Linked DNA regions of Homo sapiens: region 1 is linked to region 2. The links are contacts of gene promoters, found by promoter capture Hi-C in blood cells and fetal thymus (Javierre and others, 2016). All regions are on one chromosome and are shown on one strand. Each heading gives the region's core, a stretch centred on a gene start or on the middle of the fragment in contact. The rest is flanking DNA. Distances are from core to core; before and after follow the strand shown. Region 1 overlaps PDGFRA (platelet derived growth factor receptor alpha). Region 2 holds the start of RASL11B (RAS like family 11 member B).

What was found. Contacts are between HindIII fragments. The CHiCAGO score rates a contact against its expected background, and 5 or more counts as called.
Region 1: a contact is called between a fragment that was not itself captured here and the fragment with the promoter of RASL11B in region 2, in 1 of 17 cell types (M1 macrophages). The highest score is 6.1, in M1 macrophages.

What each region holds. Positions count from the first base shown.
Region 1 is chr4:54,273,593-54,280,558 of GRCh38, forward strand. It overlaps PDGFRA (platelet derived growth factor receptor alpha), which reads left to right. Exons shown (of 23, transcript NM_006206.6): 10 at 1-138; 11 at 939-1,033; 12 at 1,249-1,381; 13 at 3,796-3,900; 14 at 4,304-4,414; 15 at 4,770-4,923; 16 at 6,724-6,890. Among named protein-coding and RNA genes, the nearest start is that of PDGFRA, 48 kb to the left of the region's middle. RefSeq lists an enhancer at 4,564-5,087. The HindIII fragment of the contact is 1,336 bases long and covers 583-1,918 here.
Region 2 is chr4:52,856,819-52,863,739 of GRCh38, forward strand. RASL11B (RAS like family 11 member B) reads left to right here and starts at 5,499. Exons shown (of 4, transcript NM_023940.3): 1 at 5,499-5,831; 2 at 6,450-6,506. The coding sequence starts at 5,690. It overlaps LOC124900700 (a long non-coding RNA gene), which reads right to left and starts at 5,387. Exons shown (of 2, transcript XR_007058115.1): 1 at 5,266-5,387; 2 at 4,331-4,913. RefSeq lists silencers at 5,063-5,552, 5,524-5,818. The HindIII fragment of the contact is 3,261 bases long and covers 4,804-6,921 here.

The DNA of each region.
Region 1 (6,966 bases), core at 1-2,500, 1.4 Mb after region 2:
CGGAGATCCACTCCCGAGACAGGAGTACCGTGGAGGGCCGTGTGACTTTCGCCAAAGTGGAGGAGACCATCGCCGTGCGATGCCTGGCTAAGAATCTCCTTGGAGCTGAGAACCGAGAGCTGAAGCTGGTGGCTCCCAGTGAGTTCCTCAACAGTCAGGACAACTCATCAGCTGAGCCGCATCTGCCCCAGGCGGAACTTTGAATCCCAGATAGGGGTTATATAGAAATGAAGGTCCCAAGGCAGAAATTCAGTTATGAATGCTCTTAAAGTCATGTGGGACTTTGTTTTATTTTGTTTTGTTTTTTGAGACAGAGTTTTGCTCTGTGGCCCAGGCTGGAGTGCAATGGCACAATATTGGCTCACTGCAACCTCTACCTAGGACGTTGTTTTAGATTCAGATCCAAAACTGCATTTTTGCAGAGGCCCCTCAACATTTTGCTTGTCTAATAATATAGCTACAGTCTCTACTTTGAATGTCTGTGTATGTGGATGGAGTGTGGGGAAGGATCTTCTGTCTCATTGCTCCTTAAAAGATAGATGAAGCCAAAAGCAATATAAGCAAAATGCAACTTACAAAATAAGCTTTATAATAAAGCATATGAAGTAGAGGTGTCTGCCCATATAGTAGCTGTCAATTGCATTTATCCTATTCAAATTCTGTCCACAAGGTTACTGTTGGAGCAACTTTGGAGAAAATACTGAGTTCTCCTGATTGAATTTTGTCCCCTTCTTGTATAAGGAAAGAGTTGATGTAGTTTCCTGGGTGTAGATGGTTTGAGAGATGGTACTGCCTATCCCTAAAATGAACCAGGCAGCCCTCACACTTCCCCACCAGCAGTGAGAGATTCCTGGCTCAGACACAGCCACACTACCTTGCTGCCCCTGTGCATGTCTGCCAGGAAACTTTTCATTGTGCCTCTCTCTCTTGTCACGTAGCCCTGCGTTCTGAACTCACGGTGGCTGCTGCAGTCCTGGTGCTGTTGGTGATTGTGATCATCTCACTTATTGTCCTGGTTGTCATTTGGAAACAGGTAGATATTTTCTCATAAAACTAAAGATCTTTGAAGCCAATGAGAACAAGCATAGCAACCTAGTTCAGTGCTTGGCACAGAGAAGGAGCTCAGCAATTACATGTGGAGTGAACGTTGTTGGACTCTACTGTGTCCAGTCACTGTGCTGCTTCAGTGAAGCTCTGGTGCACTGGGACTTTGGTAATTCACCAGTTACCTGTCCTGGTCATTTATAGAAACCGAGGTATGAAATTCGCTGGAGGGTCATTGAATCAATCAGCCCAGATGGACATGAATATATTTATGTGGACCCGATGCAGCTGCCTTATGACTCAAGATGGGAGTTTCCAAGAGATGGACTAGTGCTTGGTAAGTTCCATGGGGTAACCTCCCAAGACTCCCTTTTCCCTTGCACACAACTTTACAATTTATAGGCCTTGGCAGAATAGAGATCTGAGCTTGTGCTTAGTAAGAACTAGGCAATGGAAATTTGCTTTCAGAAATACATTTCTGTCTTGACAGTAAGTTAATTGGATCATTGCAATGATTTTTTTAAATCTCTTTCCATAACAAATTATAGTTAAGGAAAATTTTACAAAGGGAGAAGAGAATATGAAGAGGGCTGGCAAAGATACCCACCAAAATTGCTTTTCTTTAGAAATGACACAAATTGAAAATGAATTTCTGTGACTAAAAATGAGCAGATGAGAAATGAATGAGGACAACCACAAAATGTATTTTGATTCAGTACATTCTGAAGATGCATTAGATACTCCTTTTTACATATTTGGAATATGGAATATAAAAATATAGGTACATTTTGAGGCAAAATATGTAAAAATAAGCAAGCCAACTTATCACAAGCATTTCAAGTATTTCAATCCTGGGCTGAGACCAAGTATATGAAGCTTTAGTCCAAGGGAGTATTTCTTTTTTAAATCACATTCCTAATGAATGAAAGCAAGACAAAGGCAAATGAAAGTAGAGGTAGAGGTTGTGTTATGATGAATGATCTAACAGTATATATGTTAAAGAATGCCAAATGCAGGTTTTAATTATCCACCGGTCTCATTGCAAAATACAGAAGAGTTTAAGTCTTCTTAGAGAGTTAGGTAAACTGAAATCAAGCAAGGCACCAGAGTGAAATCACCTTTGCAAAAATTGTAACTGAGGAAATTATGACAGTGAATGAGATATGACCTAACCAACTCCATTTTGCTTTAGCCTCCAAGTTGTCCTTGTTCCTTCCTGGGCATAGGCCGAACTAACTTTGAGAGGAACTTAGTTTATAGTTTGACTTTGAAAAAAAGACAATAATAGCCCTTTGCCAAAACAAACCCTCTTTTTCCCTGGGAACTAGACTGCCTTTGCGGGACTAACGAATTAGCTACAAGATTAGAAAGTATGGTTTAGGGGTCACTGTTGTAAAACCTGAGGTCAGTGCTTGAGATATTTTGGAGACCCTGTATTTCGATGCACCAGCTGACACCACCCAGGTCAATAAACTGGCTCATCTGATCTTGGGGCCCCTACCTAGGAACTGACTCAGTGCAAGAGGACAGCATCAGCTCCCTATAATTTCATCTTTGACCCAACCAATCAGCACTCCCCTTTTCACCCCCTACCCACCAAATCATCCTTAAAAACCCCATTCCCCCAGTTTCAGAGACACTGATTTGAGTAATAGCAGAATAGTAGAAATTCCCCCAGTTTCAGAGACACTGATTCGAGTAATAGTAGTAATAGTAGAATAGGTCTCCCGTACAGCTGGCTCTGTGTGAATTAAACCCTTTTTCTATTGCAATTCCCCTGTCTTGGTAAATCGGCTCTGTCTAGGCAGCGGACAAGGAGAATCCATGGGGCGGTTATAAGAGCTGCCCCCCAATTTCAAATATTTATATCTAAGCTTTCTTTATTTTCCTGCCTATTTCCCAACAAGGGATGAGGAGCTTAGGGAGTTAAAAAGTAGTAAAATATGGGGAAAAGGGCATAATTCCCATTATACCAAGAGGCATTGCTGGTGAAGCAATACCTTTCCAGGTACGATTTTCAGTAACACAGACGTGCAGTAAGAGGCAGTGTTGGCTGTTAGTGTCTTTTATGAGCCAAGTCTTTTCCTGGCTTGGCTATCCGTGGTGAGACTGACACCCCGGGAAATGTTTCTCTCAGGGTGAGCTCTTTCAGGGTGGGACAACAGCTTCAGTGTCTTTACGTATGTCTCCTCCCAACATGAAGCTAATTGCTGTGCTCTCGGGCATGTTTAGCTCTTGGTAGAGTGGCTTTCCTAACAAATAGGGAGCAGTGAGCCCAGCCTGAAGTTTTTATTTAGTCACTCCTTAGAATCAGTGATATTTTGAATACTGAAGTATTTCCAGTGGCTAGTAATTTACTAAGACAAAAGATGCCCCTGTTTGCATATGGAAAACAGAAGGGGAGAGAGCCAGGAGGTGTGGGTGAGAGCCCCGAAGGCAAGAGGATCCCAGGGGCTGGCCCAGCACGGAGCTGGTAGACAGCGCGCTCACACCAGGGAGGGCTGCACCCTCCTTTCTCCCGTCTGTGTTTTCTTTCCCTTGCAAGTGTTATTCGACAAAAGCAATTATGCTAATTTCCTTCCCTGTGGGCTCAATTCCTTTTTTGACACGATGACTTGGAGGAGTCATTATGATTACTCCAAACAGGAAAGACACTCGCCCAGCTGTCCGCCCGCAGAGAGCTGGCTACGGTGCAGAAAGCTGAGGAGGCGTCTGGAGTTTTTGGGTGTTAATGATTCTGCCTGCCCACAGGTCGGGTCTTGGGGTCTGGAGCGTTTGGGAAGGTGGTTGAAGGAACAGCCTATGGATTAAGCCGGTCCCAACCTGTCATGAAAGTTGCAGTGAAGATGCTAAAACGTAAGTGCTCCTTCCTGGGGATTTTTTGAGCACGGGGATTTTTTGAGCATGGGGATATTAAGGGAATTTCTCAAAATCATGCAGCTAGTAAATAAGACATTTAGGACTAGGTCCTGATTATTTTGACTCCAGGTTTTATGTGTATTTAGATTAGGTTTATTTAGATTGCTCTTGCTGCCTGTATGTTGGAAAATTAAGAGCTTGTTATTTCCAGTGACTTCTTTTTACTAGAAAGACCAGGAATTAGTTATTAGCACTGAGGCCAAGTAGCTATCTGCTTCTTTTAGACTTCTGGTAAATAGAATGATATCCAATCACAGGATTAGTCATATTCTTGGTTTTTTTCTGAGAACAGGAAGTTGGTAGCTCAGCTGGACTGATATGTGATTTATTCTTTCAACAGCCACGGCCAGATCCAGTGAAAAACAAGCTCTCATGTCTGAACTGAAGATAATGACTCACCTGGGGCCACATTTGAACATTGTAAACTTGCTGGGAGCCTGCACCAAGTCAGGTGGGCTCACTGACCTGGAGTGAGGATTTTCACTGGACACATGTGGTTGTGAAAACTGTTCAATCAGGCTTAAATCCTCCACTCTCCATCCCCACACATGGCAGGGAATAGAAGTCCCTTGAATGGAGCTGACTGGTCCCTTGAATTGATGGAAGCTCATTGGTTTTTGAGCAAAATCTGTTGCCAGTCCAGTCATAGCCATTCATGGCTCTTTATTAAAAAAAAAAAAAAAAAAAAAAAAAAAAAACTTTTTTGGTATCTTATTTTTTTCTGTGCCATATGGTCTGCAGGACAATTCATGGCTTTTCTGTTCTTCATTTTCATACCCATCTCCTAACGGCTTTTGTCCCCATAGGCCCCATTTACATCATCACAGAGTATTGCTTCTATGGAGATTTGGTCAACTATTTGCATAAGAATAGGGATAGCTTCCTGAGCCACCACCCAGAGAAGCCAAAGAAAGAGCTGGATATCTTTGGATTGAACCCTGCTGATGAAAGCACACGGAGGTGGGTGCAAAGAGAGATGTTGCTGTCTATCATTATCTTACAGGCATCACAAATGGAAAGACCCATGTCCTGATAGATATCATGTCTGCAGATTCAGTGCCCAAGGTAGCAAGACTTAGAGTCAAACCACCCTGTCCAGTCTTTCCATGGTCATGCAGAGAGATGCATGATGTCTAAAGGTGTTTTGGACTGGGGTGTCACATGGGAAGGCCTTGCTGATAGGTTTGAATGAGAGTGAGTTAGAATGACTCTGGGAGCTCTTCTGCTATTTACATGTGATCCACTTAGACCTATAAAATGCAGCTCTGGCCAGGGATGCTTGAGTTCTGGAACCTTGCAAGAACTGTCTGTGGATCTCCAAGCTCGAGGTCCTTGCTGAACCTGGACCTATAAATGACGTCAATGATAGTGATCCCTACTGCAGAAATCTACAAGTGGCTATAAAGAACTCTGTAGGTAAGAAATTCTGTAAGATCAGAAAGTACAATGAATTCACTTCATAATAAATTACTTGGTGGACACCAAATGGGTGCTAAATTGATTGGGTAGAAGGAATTGTATGCCCAAGCCACATGGCCACACGGCTCAAGTTCCAACCAAGGCTTGTGAGTTGAAAAACTGAGAAAGAATAATGACAGACTTAACGTAGTGAATTCTTCAAACTTTAAGTGTAATGGACTTACAGGTCCATGGGAGCACAGCCCCACTGTCTTAGATGTGGCTCTTCAGGATGTGCGGGCTCCTGCTAAGGATGTGCAGGGAACTGGCTCTGAAAACAAGTGAACAGTAGTCATCATGGCAGCTGACATTTGTGGAGTCCTTTGTATGTGCCAGGTGCCATGACAAATATTCCGCTAGTCTTTCCCATCTTTGTCAGTGGGATCCATTCTACGTCTTCTGAAAAGTGCTTCCTTGACCCCCAGATCAAGTCATTTTCCTTACAAGCTATTGAAACCTTTCTTCCTTCACAACACAGCTGAGTTTGAGTTGATCTGTGTATTTATTTTGTTTTTTACATTTCTTTTTTTCCCTATTTAAAAAATTTTTTTATTTCCATAGGTTTTTGGGGAACAAGTGGTATTTGGTTACATGAGTAAATTCTTCAGTGGTGATTTGTGAGATTTTGGTGCACCCATCACTGGAGCAGTATACACTGAACCCAGTTTGTAGTCTTTTATCCCTCACCTGCCTCTCAATTTTTCCCCGAGTCCCCAAGTCCATTGTGTCATTCTTATGCCTTTGCATCCTCATAGCTTAGCTCTCACTTATGAGTGAGAACGTACGATGTTTGGTTTCCATTTCTGAGTTACTTCACTTAGAATAATAGTCTCTAATCCCATCCAGGTTGCTGCAAAAGCCATTAATTCATTCCTTTTTATAGCTGAGTTACATATATATATATATATATGCACACCTACACATACATATGTATAGATACACTGCAGTTTCTTTATCCACTCCTTGATTGATGGGCATTTGGGGTTGGTTCCACATTTTTTCAATATGTGAATTGTGCTGCTATAAACATGTGTGTGCAAGTATCTTTTTAGTATGACTTCCTTTCCTCTGGTAGATACCCAGTAGTGGAATTGCTGTGATGCATGTATTTGTGCGACTATTTGATTAATGCTCATTTCCTTGACTAGATCACCTCATGTGAAAGGTATGGATTGGTTTTGCTTTTACCCAGTTAGCTCCCATGCCTACCTCAGTACCTGGCACATAATCATCATCTACTGAAAGTGGAATGACCACTTCAGAAGGGCACCCTGGGTAAGATTTCTCTTTCTGTTTTTACAGCTATGTTATTTTATCTTTTGAAAACAATGGTGACTACATGGACATGAAGCAGGCTGATACTACACAGTATGTCCCCATGCTAGAAAGGAAAGAGGTTTCTAAATATTCCGACATCCAGAGATCACTCTATGATCGTCCAGCCTCATATAAGAAGAAATCTATGTTAGGTAAAAGTGTCTATACTCACTCTGGGTGTTGGGACTTTCCAGTGGTTTAATATGATACTTAAAGTATTTAGAGGGA
Region 2 (6,921 bases), core at 4,249-6,748:
AGATTGCAGGATAGCACTGCTAGGGTATCCACAGAGATGAAATAAAAAGGATGTAACAGCCTGATATCTGTGACTTCTACTGAGAATGAATGGCTGAGTTTCAGAGTTCTGAATGAGGAACATTGCTGATGCTAGGGAGTCAACCTCAGCATGGCTTGTGTGGAGCCCATGACTCTGTGCAAACAGGATGTGGGAGGGCTTGTGCAGTCCAATGACAGAGATGCAGCACAAACCAGCTGAATCTAAACAGGGACTGTATTGACTCCTGTAACTTGGGGTAAGTCTGCATTTTCAGGCATGGTTGAATGTAGGGTGGGAAAAGGTGCTATCAGGGTCCTGGCTGTCTCTGCCTCTCAATTGTCTTTTCTTCCGGGTTGGCTTCATCCTCAGCTGACTTTCCACGAGGTAGCCAAGATGGAGCTCCAGGCTCACTTTCTACCAGCCAGTTGACACCAGCGCGAATGAAGCAGCTCTTTCCTAGCAAAACTCTCAGGGATGGATTTAATTGGCCCAGCCGTGAAGGAGTCCCTGTGGTGGACGCCCCTTCTTCCGCAGAATTAGGGATTGGGATCATCATACCACCACCACCTGGGCAATATGAAAGTGGGGCAGGGGAGGTTTCTAAAGGAAAATTGGGAGTGCTCTTATTAAAAGAATGGAAAATGATTCTGAGCAAGGGAGGTCAACAGACGTTCTTTGTAGCCAGACTACAGGAAAACAGTCCAAAAGAGTGGAGATAGGTGTTGATATGGCTTGGATATCTCACTCAAATCTCATGTTGAATCGTATTCCCCAGTATTGAAGGTGGGAGTATTGTGGGAGGTGTTTGGATCAATAGGGCAGATCCATTATGAATGGTTTGGGCCATTGCCTTGGTGATAAGTGATCTCTTGCTTTGGCTGGCACCTCCCCCCCTGCTTTCTCTCTCTCTGTGGCTCCTGCTTTTGCCATGTGATGTGCCTGCTCCCCACTCACCTTCTGCCATGATTGTAAGCTTCCTGAGATCTCCCTGGAAGCCAAGCAGATGCCAGCACTGTTTCCTGTAAAGCCTGTGGAACCATGAGCCAAGTAAACCTTTTTCTTTTCTTTTCTTTTCTTTTTTCACCTTTTTCTTTATAAATTACCCAGTCTCAGGTATTTCTTTAGAGTAATGTAAGAACAGCCTAACATAGGTGTCAATACATACTACATAAAAGCAACGACAACAGTGGTCTTGAATATGGTCTCAAAGCAATCAATTCAAAAAGAACCTCATTATACCCTTTTATAACTGAAAGTTAAATGTCTACTGGGACATGATCTGTCCTTTTCTGGGCCTTTGTGTTGTTTGGGCTGCTAGAGAAGAGTGGAAGAAATGGTGAATTCACACTGAGTTCCTGTCTATCTGTTTCCAGTGTGTCTTCATGTACTGCCAGGACTAGAAAGGTAAACATGACATTTCCTAGACTCCCTTGCAGCTAGAGTAATAGATAAAATGAATTTCATTAATTAGATGTGCTCAGAGATTTGAAAGGCAGAAGCAAGGAGGAAAGATTCTTTCTGCTGCTTGATTGCTTTCTGCTGCCATGCACAATTGAGATATTGGGCTTCTGTGCAGCAACTTTCCAATGTCTGGTCTCTAGCTTTGTGAGTTTTGAGAGAGAATAACAGAGGCAGCCACTGTGTTCCCCTGATTATGGAAGAGGCAGCAGCTTCCTGCGTGGGCCAGTTCTGCAGTGCTGCTCTGGGAGCCATTTCTGCAGGTCCAGCCTAGAGCCTGCTACTCCAGCCCTTCCAAAGACATTGAAAGCAGGTAATTTCCTGTATTAAATCGTCTTCTGCTTAAAACCACTAAAGAGTGTCTGTTTACTGGATCTAAACAAGCAGAGTTGACAAAAGTCTCAAGAAAAAATAAAGTCTGGTTCTTGCTCAAGGCCTGGATGTTCAGAGAGGGCTGATTTGGGAGCAACTCCTGGTGATGTGGGCAGAGGAGCAGCTCATTTGGCTTCCATGCGGGCATGTTCCCATGGAAGAAGGGAGCACCAAGGCAACTTCTGGAGCTTTTCTTATCAATATGAGGGCTCCTCCACAGAAATCACCAGGGCTTTTCTCTCTGTTCACCCATCAGGAACTATCCTCCGTTCCTTTAATTCATTTTCTCAATGTGAGGCCTTTGCTATATTCACTTATGCTTTCATTTATAATCCACAACTATTTACTGAGCACCTATTGGCAAGTGCTATTCTCTTGCGAACTAACCCATCTTGCCCCCTCCTAACTCCCTGCTCCATACTCCCATGTACATGCACACACATACATGCACACTGTACACAACACACAAACTTCTCAACTCCTTCACCACCCCCTCCTTGACTGCCACAACCCAGGTTTTTAGTCCTAGTTTGTGCTTCTGTAATTCCTGAATTTTCCCTATCAAAGTGTTTTCTCACACTGTATTGAAATTGCTCATTCACTTCAGTCTCTCATGCTAAATGTAGCTGCAGGGATGGCAAAGGTTGCATTTCTTATTTGCCACTGTAGACTCAATACCTAGCATAATGTCTGGTATACACATAGCCCAGACATCCAATAAATATTTATTGAATTCATATTCTGGCATTCTAAGGGCTTCCAGGGACTGAATTGTCTGGGCTAAACCTCTTAAGATCAAAGGAAGTGCTAGAAACTCCAGATGCTGAGGTAAAATTGAACCTTGGCAAAATACTTCTTTCTTTTCTTCCCAAACCCCTCCTCATGTTTCAATTCCCCATCCTCATCTCTTTTAGCTTGACAAAAAAAAAAAAAAAAAAAAAAAAAAAGAAAAGGCTCTGTCCCTTGCAGGATATGTAACTTTGGAAGAGTTTTTTAACCCGAGACTTTGCTTTCTCACTTGTAAAATGGAAGCGTAGTGAATTACAGATGGCCACACATTCTTTGACACCATTCCCACTTAAAGATAGGATCGATGTTCCTGCCCCTTGATCTTTAATCTGGGTGGGCTCTGTGACACTTGACCAATAGAACAGAGCAGAAGTGATGCGGTGCCAATTTCCAAGTGTAGGTCTTAAGAGACTAGCAGCTTCTACTTGGTTTCTTAGAATGCTCACTCAAAGGGAAGCCCGTCACCATGTTGTGAGAGAGCCTGAGCTAGTCCCAGCTGTTCTGCCCATTCCAGCTGACACACAGACATATGAACGAAGATACCATCTTGGATGTCCAGCCTAGTTGAGCCTTCAGATGATAGCAGCCCCAGCTGCCATCTGACTGCAACAACATGAGAGACCCTAGGTAAGCACTCCCCAGCTAAGCCTAGTCAACACACAGAACTGCGAGCCACTAAAGTTTGGGGTGGTTTACTAAGCAGCAATAGATAACGGCAACTAGAAGTAATGGTAATACCTACCTCATAGGACTGTTATGAAGGTAAAATGAGATTTTTAAATGCAAAACCCCTGTGTACAACCTAGAATGAAACAAGCGCTCATTATGTATCGTCACTTCTCCTGCCTTGCCTCCTTCCTCTTTTTAACTCTATGAATGTCCCAGAAGGAGAGGTAGGTGGAGTGGAGATGGGCTATATGCTAGGTATTTGGAATTTGAATAGCTCTCTTTTCTTTTTTACATCTTTCTCTTGCTTCTCTCTTTTCTGTGTTCTTTAAAGCATAGCCAGATCATTTAGATCTAAAATAAGAACACCAAATCAAGCCTTTGCGTTGCAGACAGAAAAATCACGGGTTTTGTATGGGCTTATGGTAATGAAAATCAAGCCCAAGAAACTAAATGATTCAAAGCAAAATTCCCCTTGACAGCTTTTGTCATGTCTCTGTGTGTGTGTGTGTGTGTGTGTGTGTGTGTGTATGTTAAACTAGTACTTTAGCCTACATCATTATTTTACCATGTAAGCATGATAGAATAGCAGGCTTTTTGGAGGGGAAAGATTTTAAAAGTACATGGTTACCTGTAATTACAGTCTTGCAAAGTTTGATTTTATAGAAGTGACATTCAAGTCTGATTTAAACCATGCAGAAAGACATGGTGCATATTGGAAATGCTTTTTCTTTCTGACTCAAATGGCTGTTTCGTTCTAGTGATCTCCCTAGAAGTCAGCCTTTTATTATGTTTATTGTAAGGTTGTGTGTCTTTCTAATTACGTGGCCCATCCTAGAAAACTTGCTACCTTGAGATTACCTTTCTATTTCTCCTTGCATTCCTGCAAACACCTAAACCTCTGTAGACAAGAGGTTCATCTCAGAGTCTGAACTGGCTGAGGATCATAAAATTCTGTCAAATACCTGGTCAATTAAGTTCTGGCTGGAAGAGGGGGTCAAATTAGATGACTGACATGTGCGGATAAGGGCACTGGTTTATTTCACATTTTAGCCTTTAATGTGGGTGGGTACACAAAGCCACAGAGTTTGTTGCCATACCCCAACATAAAAGCCTCTGGGACAAGGTTGAAAGGGTAGCGGGGAGAGGGCCTTGGATAGCGGATGGGGTGGTTAACCCGCGACTCTGGTGACATTTTGCCATCAGCCGCTGGTGACATCTTGCCATCAGCTGCAGCTACAGAATGTTGCTCGCAGGAGGAATTTGGCCTGCCGTTGAAGATGTGTTTCTCAGATGAGACTGTAAGGGGCCGGAGCTTGGGATTTTAGGAGTGCAGGGCCCACCTCTTCCTTGGTATCAAGCCACTTAACTAAACTCTTGCGGTGTCTTATGACCAGGGACGAAGTGCGGGGCCCCTTCAGACGTCGCAGCTGGAGTAACTGTTTTCTTTCCATTTCACAGCTCTTGAAGGAGGTGTGACTGAGTGAGGCGCTGGAAAGCTTGTTCTATAATTACTTCTTGATCCGCTTCTAGGCGTGCTGTGCATGCGTCCGACCATGTGTGTTTGCGTTAGCTTGCGCCGTCGACAAGAGCCAGAGAACGTGGGTCTAGGATAAAACGTGGATGATATTTTTGCTTCAAATGTCACATTTTACGGGGGTCTAAAGGTCTTAGGCTGGAGTCTTTGCGGATGATTGCCAACTGTAGCTGAATCTATGAGCTGGGATGTACCCAAGCCAGTGCAATCGCTCCAAATCAGGGCGGGCGGCACTAAGCCGGGGAGCAAACACCGCTCCCGGCCCGCCCAGAGCAGACGCCCTAGGTTGGGGCTGCAGCGAGTGCGCGCGTGGGCTGTGGAGCCGGCGGAGGCAGCGGTCCGGAATGGCTCTGTGGAGGCTGCGCTCTCTTCCTGGCCCCGCAGCCACAGCAGCTGCCCCATGCTCGCGCGGCAGGACCTACCAGGCGCCCACCCTGGGCTGCGCCGCCTCGGACCACCCGCTGCTCCCCTCCGCCCGCTGCCTCTTCTCCCCGCGCCTCACGGGGCTCCGCACTGACTCCAGGCGCCTCCGGGGGCGTCGCGCGCGCGGAGCGGCGCCGGGGGCGGGGCCTCGTGTAGGGCGCCCCGGGATTGGCTGTGGGGAGAGGGGGCGGGGCCGGCCGCGGAGAAAACAGCCGGCGCGCCGCGCGAGTGCAGTCTGGGTCTGGAGCCTGAGCCCTGCGGAACCTCGGCGCTCGGCCCCACCCCGCCCGTACCTGCACTTATTTATTGTTGTTATTTCTTACCGCGGAGCCCCGCAGTCGGGTCCTCCCGCCCGCTCCCGCGCAGCGCTAGCATTCTCCAGTCCCTCAGTCCCTTCCCGCGCGGTGCGCCGCAGCCGAGGCGATGCGCCTCATTCAGAACATGTGCACCATCGCCGAGTACCCCGCGCCGGGCAACGCCGCGGCCTCCGACTGCTGTGTGGGCGCCGCCGGCCGCCGCCTGGTCAAGATCGCCGTGGTGGGCGCCAGCGGCGTGGGCAAGACCGGTGAGTCGTCGCGCTTAGCCCTGGGTCTGGTCTTGGACGACCCCTGACGGGAGTTGAGGCTGAACAAGGCGTGGGGAGCGGTGGGAGCTGCAGCCCGACCGCTCTCCGTCCCCGCGCAGGGAGCCGCTGCCCCTTGGGAGTGGGCTTAGCCGTTGTCTACGCCACCCGCCTGCTTCCACAGACGGGGGAAACAAGGATCAAGAATGGCCAGGCAGCTTTCTGGGGACCACCGGCACCGCCGCCATCAGAACTTTGGGGTGTTTGAGCCTCTGGCAATGCCTGGCACAGAAAGGGGAGTTAGTGAAGCTAGCCCCCCTGGGAGGTCTTGAAGGTTAGGAAGACATGGGTCTACTGGAAGGCTTAGGTGTGGCTCAGCCGGGCTCAGAGGAGGGGGTGGGCCCAGTGAGCCTTCCAGCTGCACAGAGCCATAATTCACGATGCCTTCTAGCCCCCTCCTTTTTGTCTGGAAAGAAGGGTCAAGGAGCTACAGGGTAGGAATTTCACTTGGTGGCCATCTATGGCTTTCTTTGGGAGAACTGTTTTCCAGGCAGGGGGTGGGGTGGAGAACAATCTAACTTCCAAGGTTAACACTTTGACGTTCTTTTTTCTGACGTGCAGCACTGGTGGTCCGGTTCCTCACCAAACGATTCATCGGTGACTATGAAAGAAATGCAGGTGAGACAATGCATTTGAGAAAAATTCTGTCCCATTGCAGGAGGACTGCGGTTCCCATTTTCCAGCGCTTCCCAGGGAGGTTCTTTCAGTGACAGTCCGAGCCTGAGGATCCCGCCACTTAAAACTTTCCCCAGTCCCCAGCCCTCCATGGCGCCCCCCTCCCATAACTACCATCTGGCCTCATTCCATTCCAAGCCCATTCATCATTTTATCAAGTGCCTGAAAGTATTCCCCTTGGTATGTTTTAACTATAGTGACCCCAGTTGGAAGCACCCTTTGTAGTCAAGAACCTCTCCCTTCAAAACACTCCTGCAAAAGTCGTAAAAAAAAAAAAAAGGAGTCCCTAGCTCCTTCCCCCACCCCTCTCCTTCTCTGCTGGCTGCCTTTCAGAGGTGACCTTTTAAAGCAAAGGCCA